4 separate regions of the Homo sapiens genome follow, and regions 1, 2 and 4 are each linked to region 3. Evidence: promoter capture Hi-C in 16 types of primary human blood cells and fetal thymus (Javierre and others, 2016). All regions are on one chromosome and are shown on one strand. The core of a region is centred on a gene start or on the middle of the fragment in contact, and the rest is flanking DNA. Distances in the headings are between cores, read along the strand shown.

Region 1 (3,000 bases), core at 160-2,659, 200 kb after region 3:
TGATGCTGAATAATATCTTCAACCTTTTCTGACACTGTTGCTTAAATGAGTGGGTAGACACTCCCTGTTCAGCACACCCCACCTATTTCTGCCTGGATGCTGAAGGTGCTGCTTCCAGACACCATTCAGCAGACACACATGTATGTGCACACACACAAACACACATACACGGTTGTCATGACAACTGAGGCATGGACATTGAGGCCATGTCTGAATGGAGCCAGTCATTCAGACACCTTGGTAAAGGTGTTCTGTTTTGGGGGTGAGGGAACTTGTTTGTCTACCCAGCAGTAGCAAAAACCCATCTTTCTACCCTGCAGACAGTGGTCCTTCCTAACTAAGTGCTCAATCCTGGGATCTCGGGATACTAAAACAAGGCATCATTATTTCTCAAAAGAGCTCTCTGGATGAGATTTACCCAACTTTTATAGGGTCTAACCCACAAGGGGTCACAGTAAAAATAACTGCCAAGCCAGTCTCACTCAGTGCATTGGTTCCAGGGAAACATTTTTTGACCTCTTGGGGACCACTTATGTTAACCCACCACTTGTTGTTTTCATTTGCAAACATTCTGAAGGTCAATTTGAATTTGATTGTTTTAGGATCTAATAATTCACTTAGTGACATATCTAAATTAAAGCCCAAATCATCAGAAAGAATAAGATACACCCAACAAAGATGCCTAATTTACAATCATGAAGAAACAGTTCAGTTCATGTCAAGAGATTTATCGAATGCCTTAGACACAAGGAAAATTATCATCAATAATAAGCATTTTCTAAGCAATTACTTTGGGTGGACACATAGGCTCAGAGAGATATAAGGCTCAGGGAAGTCTATGAATACCAGCCACATTGCAAAGCCACACAAGGCATACACCAACTAGTTAGAAAAGTGGGTGATTAGAAAAGCTTTGGGCAAAGTTTCTAGGGGTAAGTAAGACTTAAGCTGAGCCTCATGGAATGCAAAGTGCTTCTGCATTTTAGAAGTAAAGGGAGAAATATTACAGGTGAAAAAAAAACTGCATGGTATGGGACCGTTTGAGTATTACCTTGTTTGGCAGGAGATGTCCTGCAGAAGAGCAATGGGAAATAAGGCTGTGTAGTAAACAATTAACCTTACCCAAAAAGAAGTCTGGCTTTTACCCTAAGGTACTGGGAGTTGGTTCCTAGGCCCCTAGAATGCCCTGCCTGAGTCTTTGTTGCTGGGGAGCTTTGGCTACTAACAGCCTACCAATGTGATTTGTGATTGTGGCCTTAGGGCCACGCAGTGTCATTTATGACCTCTGGAGGAACAACTAAAGATATTAGCTTGATCTCCAGTCTCCAGAAGTGGCTGGAAACTCAAGGTCAGCCACTCAGGCAGGATGTGATCAGGCCCCAGTAAATCTCTGAACACCAAAGGCTGAGGTGATCTTTCATGGTTGACAACACTTTGTGTGTCTCGTTGCACATGGTGACCAGGAGGAAGCAGTGTTGTCCATGACCCGATAGGGAGAAAATGACTGGCAGCTGGCACTAGACCCCGCCTGGATTCTGCCCCATGTGTCTCCTCTCTAAGCTGAATTTAATTTGTATCCTTTTACTGTAATAAAACTACAATAAGAAGTATAGCACTTCCTTGAGTTCTGTGAGTCATTCTAGTAAATTATTGAACTTGAGGGTGGTTGTGGGAGTCCCCAGATTTGTAGCCAGCTGGTCTGAAATAAGGATGAGCCTGCGCATTACCAAATTTGCAGCTCATGTCAGAAGTGAGGGAAGTCATGTGAGGACTGTGCCCCCAAACTGTAGAGTTGTCTTAACTCATCGCAAAGGCTGAAGAAGTTAGTCATGTGGGGCATTGAATGTAAGCCTGGAGAGTCTGGATATGATGCCATAGGCAGTTATATTCTTGAGCAAGAGAACAAGACAAGCTTCATCTCATAATAGTGTAAGAGACAGGATGCTTAGAGGACTGTGTTTTGTCCAGATGTGGGAAGATGAAGATCTGAACCAGCCCTGAGGCAGAAAAGGAAAAGCTGTGTGAATAATAACACTGACTGAGCATATGCTATGCCAGGCATCCTAAGCGCTCCATGTGCTTTTAATCCTCAAAACAATCTTATATGGCAGGCGACATTCTCCTCTCCATTTTACAGACCAAAAAACTGAAGCCCAGAGAGACTAACTAATTTGCCCAAAATCATCCAGCAGGAAGTGGCACAGCTGAGATTTGAACCCAGCTGGAATCAGACTCATAACCATTATCTCACATAAGCGCTACCACATGGAAGACACCGTGGTAAAAGAATCAACAGGATTTGCTGACTGGCCGTCTGGATACAAGATGAAAAAGCCAGGAAGAGGACAGGACAACTCTAGGGTTTTCCATATTGATAAATAGAAATTGCAGATGTTCCTATAGCCCAAATTGCCTATTTCACCTTGAGCAAAAAGGACATGAGCTAAGGAGATCTAAGTCATGGGCGGTTCAAATTTGCCAACTAACAAAGGGAACCTAGCTAAGTCTTTTAACTTTCCTGGGCCTAAGGTTCCTCTTCAGTTGGAGTAAATCTCTAAATTCCCTACTGACCACAAGAAGCAAAGTAGTAAGTGATCAGTAGCATGTGCTCTTAAATCAGACAGGTCTAAGACCTGACTCTGCATTTATAAGCTACGTGACCTTGGACAAGTAACTGAGTCTTGGCATTCCCATCTGGGAAATGGGGATTATAATAATATCTGGGTTATAGAAATGTTGTGAAGATATATACCATAATCAAATAATCTATGTCAAGCCCTTAGCACAATGCCTGACATATGACTAAGTATTTGATACATGACGGTTTTATTGTTAGTTTTCATGCAATGAGATATCATAGAACTTAGCCCCAAAACCACCATTCCAGATAATTCCACTGGCCAAACTCAGAGGTGAATAATTAATTTTTTAATCATTATTAATAAAGACATGAGAAAACCTTACCATGTTTTAACTACCCTTGATGCAAGTATACAGTTA
Region 2 (2,998 bases), core at 187-2,686, 230 kb after region 3:
CAAAAGGCAATTTTCACAAGCCAAGTAGTCACAGACTTTTCAGTCTCTCCACGCCAACCTCTCATATGTTTGTTTTTCTTTAAGTTGGATTCACCCAACCCCCACCCCAGGGAAAGAGTAGGCTCCCTAAATCCCAGGCTTGCAGCTGGCATTTCAGCGTGGTCATTACTACATCTGCACCATCAGCACAGAGGCACAGGTGCTGCCTTGCATAAACCAAAGATTGATTTGCAGGTTATCCATGAGGAGCTTTCCAGTCATAACATTTTTCTCCAATCAAGATTCCAGTATCCTTTATGCAAGTACACAGGCAGTAGGGGAGGGAAAATATCTACTGTCTTTTCAGCTTAAGTTTGCTTCCCCAATCATCACATCTCGAATTACTTCGCAAGACATTCTCCAAGGAATAGCACAATAGCAGTACTTTTCAGAACTGATGCCAGGGAGGGGAGGAATGTTTATGCTTGTAGTAAGTCCCAGCTGGTAGATGAAGGGCCTTTTCCCCACTCTTCAGAGTGGAATTCTCTGGTATCTCCTACCCCTTACTCACTTCCCACCAAGGAAAGGAATCATCGGTGAGTGGGAGTTCACACTCACTATGTCACCATTACTGGTGGGCGGCATCACTGTGGTAAAGACCATCTCTTCCATTACTGCTCCCACATGGTAAGCACCACTGGGCAGTTCCTCCTCTGTGGGAAGAGCTGCTGTTCTTGTTCTACCTACAACTGGGGTGGGTGAGGTAGGCCCATAGTCCTGGTGTGTAGGTGGTCAGATAAGTGACTTTATGTCTGCTCTGCAGGCCAAGCTGCTCACATGCCCACTCGCTCGTCTGGCTGAGCATGTGGGTCTAATGACTCAGATGTGGTCTCTGTGGTAGAAGCATGCACTTCAGCATCTGGCTCTCCAATCCAGCTTTTAGCAGAATTTGCTTTGAATATCAGGGACTTGATACTGAGGACAAGTGTTACTTTCTTCTCTTGCTATTATTCCTTATGTGTTCTTCCCATTGGTCAGAAGCAGAAAGGGAAGAAGAGATGAATAGCAACCTGAACATTTAACAACTGAGAGCTCTTGCAAACCAGGCTCTGAAAATATTCTCTATCAACATTAGAATGGCACCAAGTCAAGGGCACATGAGGAAACCCCTCCCAACTGCAGGATGAGATGTCTGAAATACCTGACGTAGAGCATATTAAGAGAACAATTATCTGTGTCCAGCTTTATCATCTATAATATATGTTTTATACACTCATCAAGCAAAGATGCTTTAGTTTGCTGAACCCAGTGAATCACAGAGACTTTTGCAAATGTGAAGAAATAGTATGTAGCTGCAGGATACTGCAGGCTCCTTTGCTAACTGGAAGATTAGTTGCTGTATTTTGCAAAACCCCAAACTTCAACCCAACCCATTCTCTCTTAACCAAGATAAACTGCCGTCAACCCAGCATCTTCCTCTTCCATTCCCTACCCATTTCTATTTAGAGAAGAAAGAACTGAAAACTGATATTAATATATTGCTGTATGAGTGTTTTGGAATAAGAGAGGAGGAAATAGGCCTACTCCCCTTCTCTCTTCCCTCTCCTGAATCTAAAGCCAACCTGATGCAATAGGGAAGAGTGGTGGGAGCAGAAAGAAGCTGAACCTCGGTGGGGAAGTGCAATTGTGATTTCCTCTAATAGGTAAGTTTTTGGCATAATCTGTGCACAAAATAAGGCCTTAGACTGTAAGAGAATAATTACTTTTTCTAATAAAAGCCATTGTTCTTTTGCTGCAATCAACTTTCAAGTTCTCTAAACATTTGTGATATTAATTCTATCAAGCTCTAATCCTTTGGCCATCACTCGTCTTCTTGTTCTTAAGAAGAACCTCTACTTATCCTTTGCCATGATGGGTTAAATATAAAATAAGATATAATAAAGTAAATGAAAAGCAAGGAAAACTATTAGGTTTGTACTTGTGTACCAACTCTGAGAGATGATTGGAGATGACTGAAGCACTGTGTTGGGAAGGATTCTGAGGCCAGATCTGTACTCAGAGGAAAGGTACTAATATTAGAGCGGTCCATGGGCATGAGCAATGCACACATTGTCCATCCTTGAAAGATTTAGAGTCTTACTCTTGAGTCCAAAAGGCCAGTTCACAAGGACATCAGTATGGAAGGTTGGTGTTGCAATAATACATATGAAGATTTGGAGTTTGGACCAACTACAGGCTCAATATGAGCCAGCAACATGAGAGCATTGCCAGAGATGGCAGCATGGGTGGAGGCATGTTGTCCAAGGCTAGGGAAGCACGATCTGCCCTGTACTGGCAGGATTGTGGCAGGAGTGTTGGGTTTCATTCTAGATGCATGCTTGGAGAGAACTGTTAGTCAACAGCTAGAGAGCAGTGCACTCGATAAAGGGCTTTTGAATCTATGTTTCATGGAGAAAAACAAGGATGTTCAAACTGAAGAGAAAACTTTCAGGGAATCCAGATACCCACCCTTCTTGGTAATACCTGTTGCCCCCAAGGTGAGCTTCCCAGATTCTTAGCAACCACTAACTTATCTAATGAGGTAACCCACAGAAGCTCTCCAGTGCATTTACCTGCCTGCCACTATCCTGGTGGGCCTGCTGCACCCAGATGTCAAGCTGGTAGGCTGGGATCAATTAGCAATTGTAATTAAAACTGAATGTAATTAACCACATAACAGTGAGATGTTCTTGATTAATTTCCTGAAGTTAAGAGACTACTATAATGTTCTGACAGAAGACAATAAATAATTCAAAAACTCCTAAATTTGGTTATGCATTTGAGTTTCATCCAAATAATTGTTCACCAAGCCATTGTTACTGAATAAAAATGCATTGGCCCACACACATAGGTTAACAATCTTAATTAATGATCTTGTGGCCCACTACCAAAAGGCTTGAATGCCCCTGCTGACTTTAAGTGCTTAGAAAATAGATAGCTGATGGCTGTACAACCATGTAAATGTGCTTAACACCACTGA
Region 3 (2,986 bases), core at 17-2,516:
CATGTTGTGTCTTTCTCAGTTTGAAGCCATAGTCAAACCCACTGCCATCTTCGGAGACACCCAGCATATCATACCACAGTCGGGCAGGCCCATAACGCCACTCAGCCACTCTTGGTTTGGTATCTGTCACTTTATCTACATCTCCAGTTGATTGGGAAAATTTGGACTCCACAGGAACCATCATCGTGATTTCATCATCAGCGAGACACTGCTCTGGGGGTGGTGGTGGAGCATAGTCATAGTTCCACAAAGACTTCTGGCTGACTTCTGATTCTACTGAGCATTCCACCTCCTGGATCTGCTCTTCCTGTATCAGCTCACGATGCTTCTTCCTCTTTCTCCGAGCACTCCGCCAAACAGATGGGACATTCTTCCCTGGTCCAAAAAGATGTAGGAAGCGTAACACTTTTCCAGGTCGAAATTCTGGAAAAAGTTCGGTGACACTTGGCAACAGCTTGGTGGCATCATGCTGCATAATCCCAGCCAATGGAAGGGTCAGCTTTCCATCCTCAGATTCTGCCTGTGTTGCTTCCTGAGGTCCCATCTCAGATTCTGAATCAGAGTAACTACTGAAATCCACTTTCTCTGAGGCCAAAAAGGAAGGGGCAATGATGGAGGGCAAGATGATGTCTTCTCCACTTTCAGACACACAGGTAATAGCATCTTGGTCCTTATCCTTCTTCATTGGTCCCGGGGGTGGAGGTGGAGGAGGCATCAACTTGCAATCAATGTCTTCACAATCAGCATCATAGTCATCTTCATCATAATCCGAGTGGTAAAGGGGCTGCAAGCTCCCCATCGTCTGCTGGTGTCTTTGGCTTTCATCTTCTGCCACCTCATTGATGTCTGAATAGTCTACAGCATCTTCTGTACTCCTAATCCACCCTTCATCATTTACCAAGGCACCGCCAGTCCCAGTCAATTCTTCATTTGCCGTGAGTTCAGTGATTAGGCTGCCCAGCCCCAAAGCCCCCAAGCCTGCCAAGTGCTTCTTACACTCATCATCCAAGACGCTTTCCCCCTCCAGCTGCCCCGCTCCACTGATGTTGCCGAAAAGGATACCCGCTAAAGTAAATGGGCCACCTCCAGATGAATCTTCCTCGCTGTCCGAGTCTGACATGATGGCGGCAGTGACGGTAGCTGCTGCCCTCAGCAGCAAATCGCAGCCGGGTCGCATAAACCGGAAATAAAACAACAGTCGCCCGGAAGTGATCTACTTAGCTCCCTTACCCTACCAGCGTCTACCGGAAGCTGAATAAAGGCGGGGGGAGGGGGCAAAGGGGCGGGGGGAAAAACCCGCAAAACTTTTTTTTTTTTTTTTTTTTGAGACGGAGTCTCGCAACGTCGCCCAGGCTGGAGTGCAGTGGCGCGATCTTGGCTCACTGCAAGCTCTGCCTTCTGGGTTCACGCCATTCTCCTGCCTCAGCCTCCTGAGTAGCTGGGACTACAGGCGCTCGCCACCACGCCTGGCTAATTTTTTTTTTTTTGTATTTTCAGTAGAGACGGGGTTTCACCATGTTAGCCTCTCGATCTCCTGACCTCGTGAACCGCCTGCCTCGGCCTCCCAAAGTGCTGGGATTACAGGCGTAAGCCACCGCGCCCAGCCTGTTTGCTGGTTTTTGAGACAAAGTCTTGCTCTGTCGCCCCAGGCTGGCGTGCAGTGGCACAATCTCGGCTCACTGAAACCTCCACCTCAGGAGTTCAAGAGATTCCTGCCTCAGCCTCCACAGTAGCTGGGATTACAGGCATGAGCCACCATGCCTGGCTAATTTTTTGTATTTTTAGTGGAGACAAGATTTCACCATATTGGCCAGGCTAGTCTTAAACTCCTGACCTCAGATGGTCAGCCCGTCTCTGTCTCCGAAAGTGCTGGGATTACAGGCGTGAGCCACTGCACCCAGCCTCTGTAAATCTCTTTATACATGAACTGCATATGTATGCTTCTCCAAATAATCTATAGCATTGTCATGCTTTACAATTTTGTATAAAAGGCATCTTACTGTGTGTACTCGTTTTTTTTTTCCCCCTTCCTTTTTTTTAAGAGATGGGATCTCACTATGTTAGCCAAGCTGGTCTTAAACTCCTCCTGGCCTCAAGCAATCCTCCCACTTTGGCCTCCCAAAGTGCTGAGATTACAGGCAAGAGCCACCAAACCCGACCTTACTGTATGTACTCTTAGCCAGAATGTTTTCTGGATAAAATTTATGTTTATGATATTCAACTATGTTGATGCATTCAATTCTATTTTTATAGCTCTATAGTGTTCTACAGTATGGTTATGCTACAATTTATCTATGTTCCTATGTTTGTTCATTTAAATTGTTCCCAAATTGTTCCTCTTATAAATAATGTATATGATTCCTTGAGCATATGTAGGACACATTCTCCAGGGTATACATCTAGGAGTGGAATTACTAGATTTTACAATATATGCTTTTTCAACTACACTTGCTATTACTAAATTGTTCTCCAAAGTAGTTGTACCATTTTACATACCTAACAGCAGTGTATAAAAGTTCTCACCTCTCCACATCCATTCTAACACTTAGCATTGTCATTTGTTAATTTTTGTTCATTTCTAATAAATGTATAATGATAATGTGGTTTTAATTTGTATTTTTCTGATTGCTACTGAAGGCTAACTTTTCATACACTTATTGACCAACTGTTTTTCCTCTTCTGTCAATTGCCTTTTCATATATTTTTATCTAATTTTTATAGTATCTTTAGGTTATCTGTCTTTTCTTTAATGTATAACAGTTCTTCATATATTATGGATTTGCTTGCAAATAACTTCCCCAGTCTGTGACATGTCTTTTAATCTATTTTAATGGTGTCTTTAATATATATTTTAAAATTTCAATCTTATCAAATTTTTCCTTTATGCTTTTTTTTTTTTTTTGAGACAGTCTTGCTCTGTTGCCCAGGCTGGAGTGCAGTGGCGCGATCTTGGCTCACTGCAACCTCTGTCTCCAGGTTCAAGTGA
Region 4 (2,712 bases), core at 124-2,623, 170 kb after region 3:
TTATCATGCAGTTCAAGTTTTATAATTGCCCTTTTAAATATTATGCCTACTGAATCTGTTTCTTTCTGACAGAGCGTACCAAGTGTTCTAATGTAAATTTGTTAATTACTTCTTATGTTCCTTCAGATTTAATGCATTAAATTTCTTGGCTGTATTGTACTTCCAAAAAAAAAAAAAAGAAAGAAAAGAAAAAAAGGAAGACAGGACATCAGTACAGATCCCATGGACATTGAAACAATAATAAAGGAATATTATGAACAACTCTATGCCCACAAATTTAATAACCTAGATGAAATAGGCTAATTTTTTAAAAGACACAATCTGCCAAAACTCAAACAAGAAGAAACAGACAATCTGAATAGGCCTATATCTATTAAAGGAATTGAATCAATTTTAATAACCTTCCAAAACAAAAAGCACAAGGCCCAGATGGGTTCATTGGTGAATTCCTCCAAACATTTAAGGAAGAAATTATACTAATTCTCTACAATCTCTTTCAGAAGACAGAAGAAGAGGGACTATTTCCTAACTCATTGTATTAATATAAGGCCAGCATTACCCTAATTGCAAAATCTAAAAAAGACTTTAGAAGAAAACTATAGATCAATATCTCTCATGAACATGGATGCAATCCTCAAGAAAATTTTAGCAAATCAAATCCAACAAGTATAAAAAGAATTACATATTACAACCAAGTGGCATTTATCCTAGGTATGCAAGGCTAGTGCAATGTTTGAGAATTAAATAATGTAATCCATCATATATGATATCAACAGGCTAAAGGAGAAAAATCACATATCATATCAACAGGTGCAAAAAAAATCTGACAAAATCCAACATCTATTCATGATAAAAAGTCACAGGAAATAGCAATAGAGGATAACTTCCTCAACTTGATAAAGAACATTTACAAAAAACCTATGGCTAACATCATACTTAATGGTAACAAACTAAAAGCTTTCCCACAAAAATCAGGAACAAGGCAATGATGTTCCCTCTCACCACTTCTTTTCAACATAAAACTAGACAACCTAGCTAACGCAATAAGACAAGAAAACAAAAGTATACACATTGGGAAGGAAGAAATACAACTGTCTTTGTGCACATGACTTAGACATTATTGTCTACATAGACATTCTGAAATAATTGATTTTTAAAACTCCTTCAACTAATAAACAATTATAGCAAGATTGCAAGATACAAGGCTAACATACAAAAGCCAATCACTTTTCTATATACCAGCAATAAACAAGTAGAATTTGAAGTTAAAAATATAATATCTTTTGTATTAGCACCACCTCCAAAATGAAATACTTTATGTATAAACCTAACAAAATTTATACAAGATCTACATGAGGAAAACTACAAAACTCTGGTGAAAGAAATCAAAGAACTAAATAAATGTAGAGATATTCCATGTTTACGGACAGGGAGTCTCAATATTGTTAAGACGTCAGTTCTTTCCAATTTAATCTATAGATTCAGCACAATTCCAGTCAACATCTTGTGAGGTTATTTTATAGATACCAACAAACTGATTCTAAACTTCCTTTGGAGGGACAAGAGAACTAGAATAGCCAACACATTATTGAAAAAAAAGAACAAAGTTTGACGATTGACACTACCCAACTTCAAGACTTACTATAAAGCTACGGTAACCAAGACAGTGTGTTATTGACAAAAGAATAGCAAATAGATCAATGAAACAGAATAGAGAGCCCAGAAATCAACTTACATAAATATAGTCAATTGATCTTTTTTTACAAAGGAGCAAAGGCAGTACAATGGATAAAGCTTTTTAATATATGAAACAACTGGACAGCTACACATAAAATATAGACTTTACACCCTTCACAAAAAATTAACTCAAAATTCAGATCATAGGCCTAAATGTAAAGCGCGAAACTATAAAACTCCTAAAAGATAGCATAGAACATCTAAATGACCTGAGATATAGTTATGACTTTTTAGTTATAATACCAGAGGCACGATCTATGAAAGAAATAATTGATAAGCTGGAATTCATTAAAAGTAAAAACTTCTATTCTGCTGAAGACAGTATCAAGATAATTAGAATACTAGCTACAGACTGGCAGAAAATGTTTGCAAAAGACGTATCTGATAAAAAGTTGTTATCCAAAATATGCCAAGAATTCTTAAAACTCAACAGTAAGAAAATGAAGAACCAGGCCAGGCGTGGTGGCTCACGCCTGTAATCCCAGCACTTTGGGAGGCCGAGATGTGTGGATCATGAGGCCAAGAGATAAAGACCATCCTGGCCAACATGGTGAAACCACACCTCTACTAAAAATACAAAAATTAACTGGGTATGGTGGCGTGTGCCTGTAGTCCCAGCTACTTGGGAGGCTGAGGCAGGAGAATCACTTGAACATGGGAGGCAGAGGTTGCAGTGAGCCAAGATCACGCCACTACACTCCAGCCTGGGCAACAGAGCAAGACTCTGTCCCCACCCCCAAAAAAGTGAAGAACCCAATTTAAAAATCAGCAGAAGATCTGAACAGCCATATTACCAAAGAAGATAAACAGATGGGAAAAAAAAGCACAAGAAAAGATGCTCTGCTTCACATGTCATCAGAAAACTACAAATTGAAACAATGAGATACCTCTACACACCTATTAGAATGGCCAAAATCCAGAATCCTGACAACACCAATTCTGTGGAGCAATAGGAACTCTTCAATCATGGCTGGT

The links. The method cuts DNA at HindIII sites, captures the fragments that hold promoters and counts their contacts. A CHiCAGO score of 5 or more calls a contact.
Region 1: a contact is called between a fragment that was not itself captured here and the fragment with the promoter of TAF1L in region 3, in 1 of 17 cell types (M2 macrophages). The highest score is 5.8, in M2 macrophages.
Region 2: a fragment that was not itself captured here is called in contact with the fragment with the promoter of TAF1L in region 3 in 1 of 17 cell types (M2 macrophages); the score reaches 5.1 in M2 macrophages.
Region 4: a contact is called between a fragment that was not itself captured here and the fragment with the promoter of TAF1L in region 3, in 1 of 17 cell types (M2 macrophages). The highest score is 6.2, in M2 macrophages.

The regions. Positions count from the first base shown.
Region 1 is chr9:32,837,692-32,840,691 of GRCh38, forward strand. It overlaps LOC107987060 (a long non-coding RNA gene), which reads right to left. Exons shown (of 2, transcript XR_007061452.1): 2 at 2,907-3,000. Among named protein-coding and RNA genes, the nearest start is that of TMEM215, 56 kb to the left of the region's middle. The HindIII fragment of the contact is 1,001 bases long and covers 910-1,910 here.
Region 2 is chr9:32,865,713-32,868,710 of GRCh38, forward strand. No RefSeq gene overlaps it. Among named protein-coding and RNA genes, the nearest start is that of TMEM215, 84 kb to the left of the region's middle. The HindIII fragment of the contact is 3,619 bases long and covers 1-2,998 here.
Region 3 is chr9:32,634,403-32,637,388 of GRCh38, forward strand. TAF1L (TATA-box binding protein associated factor 1 like) reads right to left here and starts at 1,267. Exons shown (of 1, transcript NM_153809.2): 1 at 1-1,267. The coding sequence starts at 1,177. The HindIII fragment of the contact is 7,933 bases long and covers 1-2,986 here.
Region 4 is chr9:32,807,464-32,810,175 of GRCh38, forward strand. No RefSeq gene overlaps it. Among named protein-coding and RNA genes, the nearest start is that of TMEM215, 25 kb to the left of the region's middle. The HindIII fragment of the contact is 837 bases long and covers 956-1,792 here.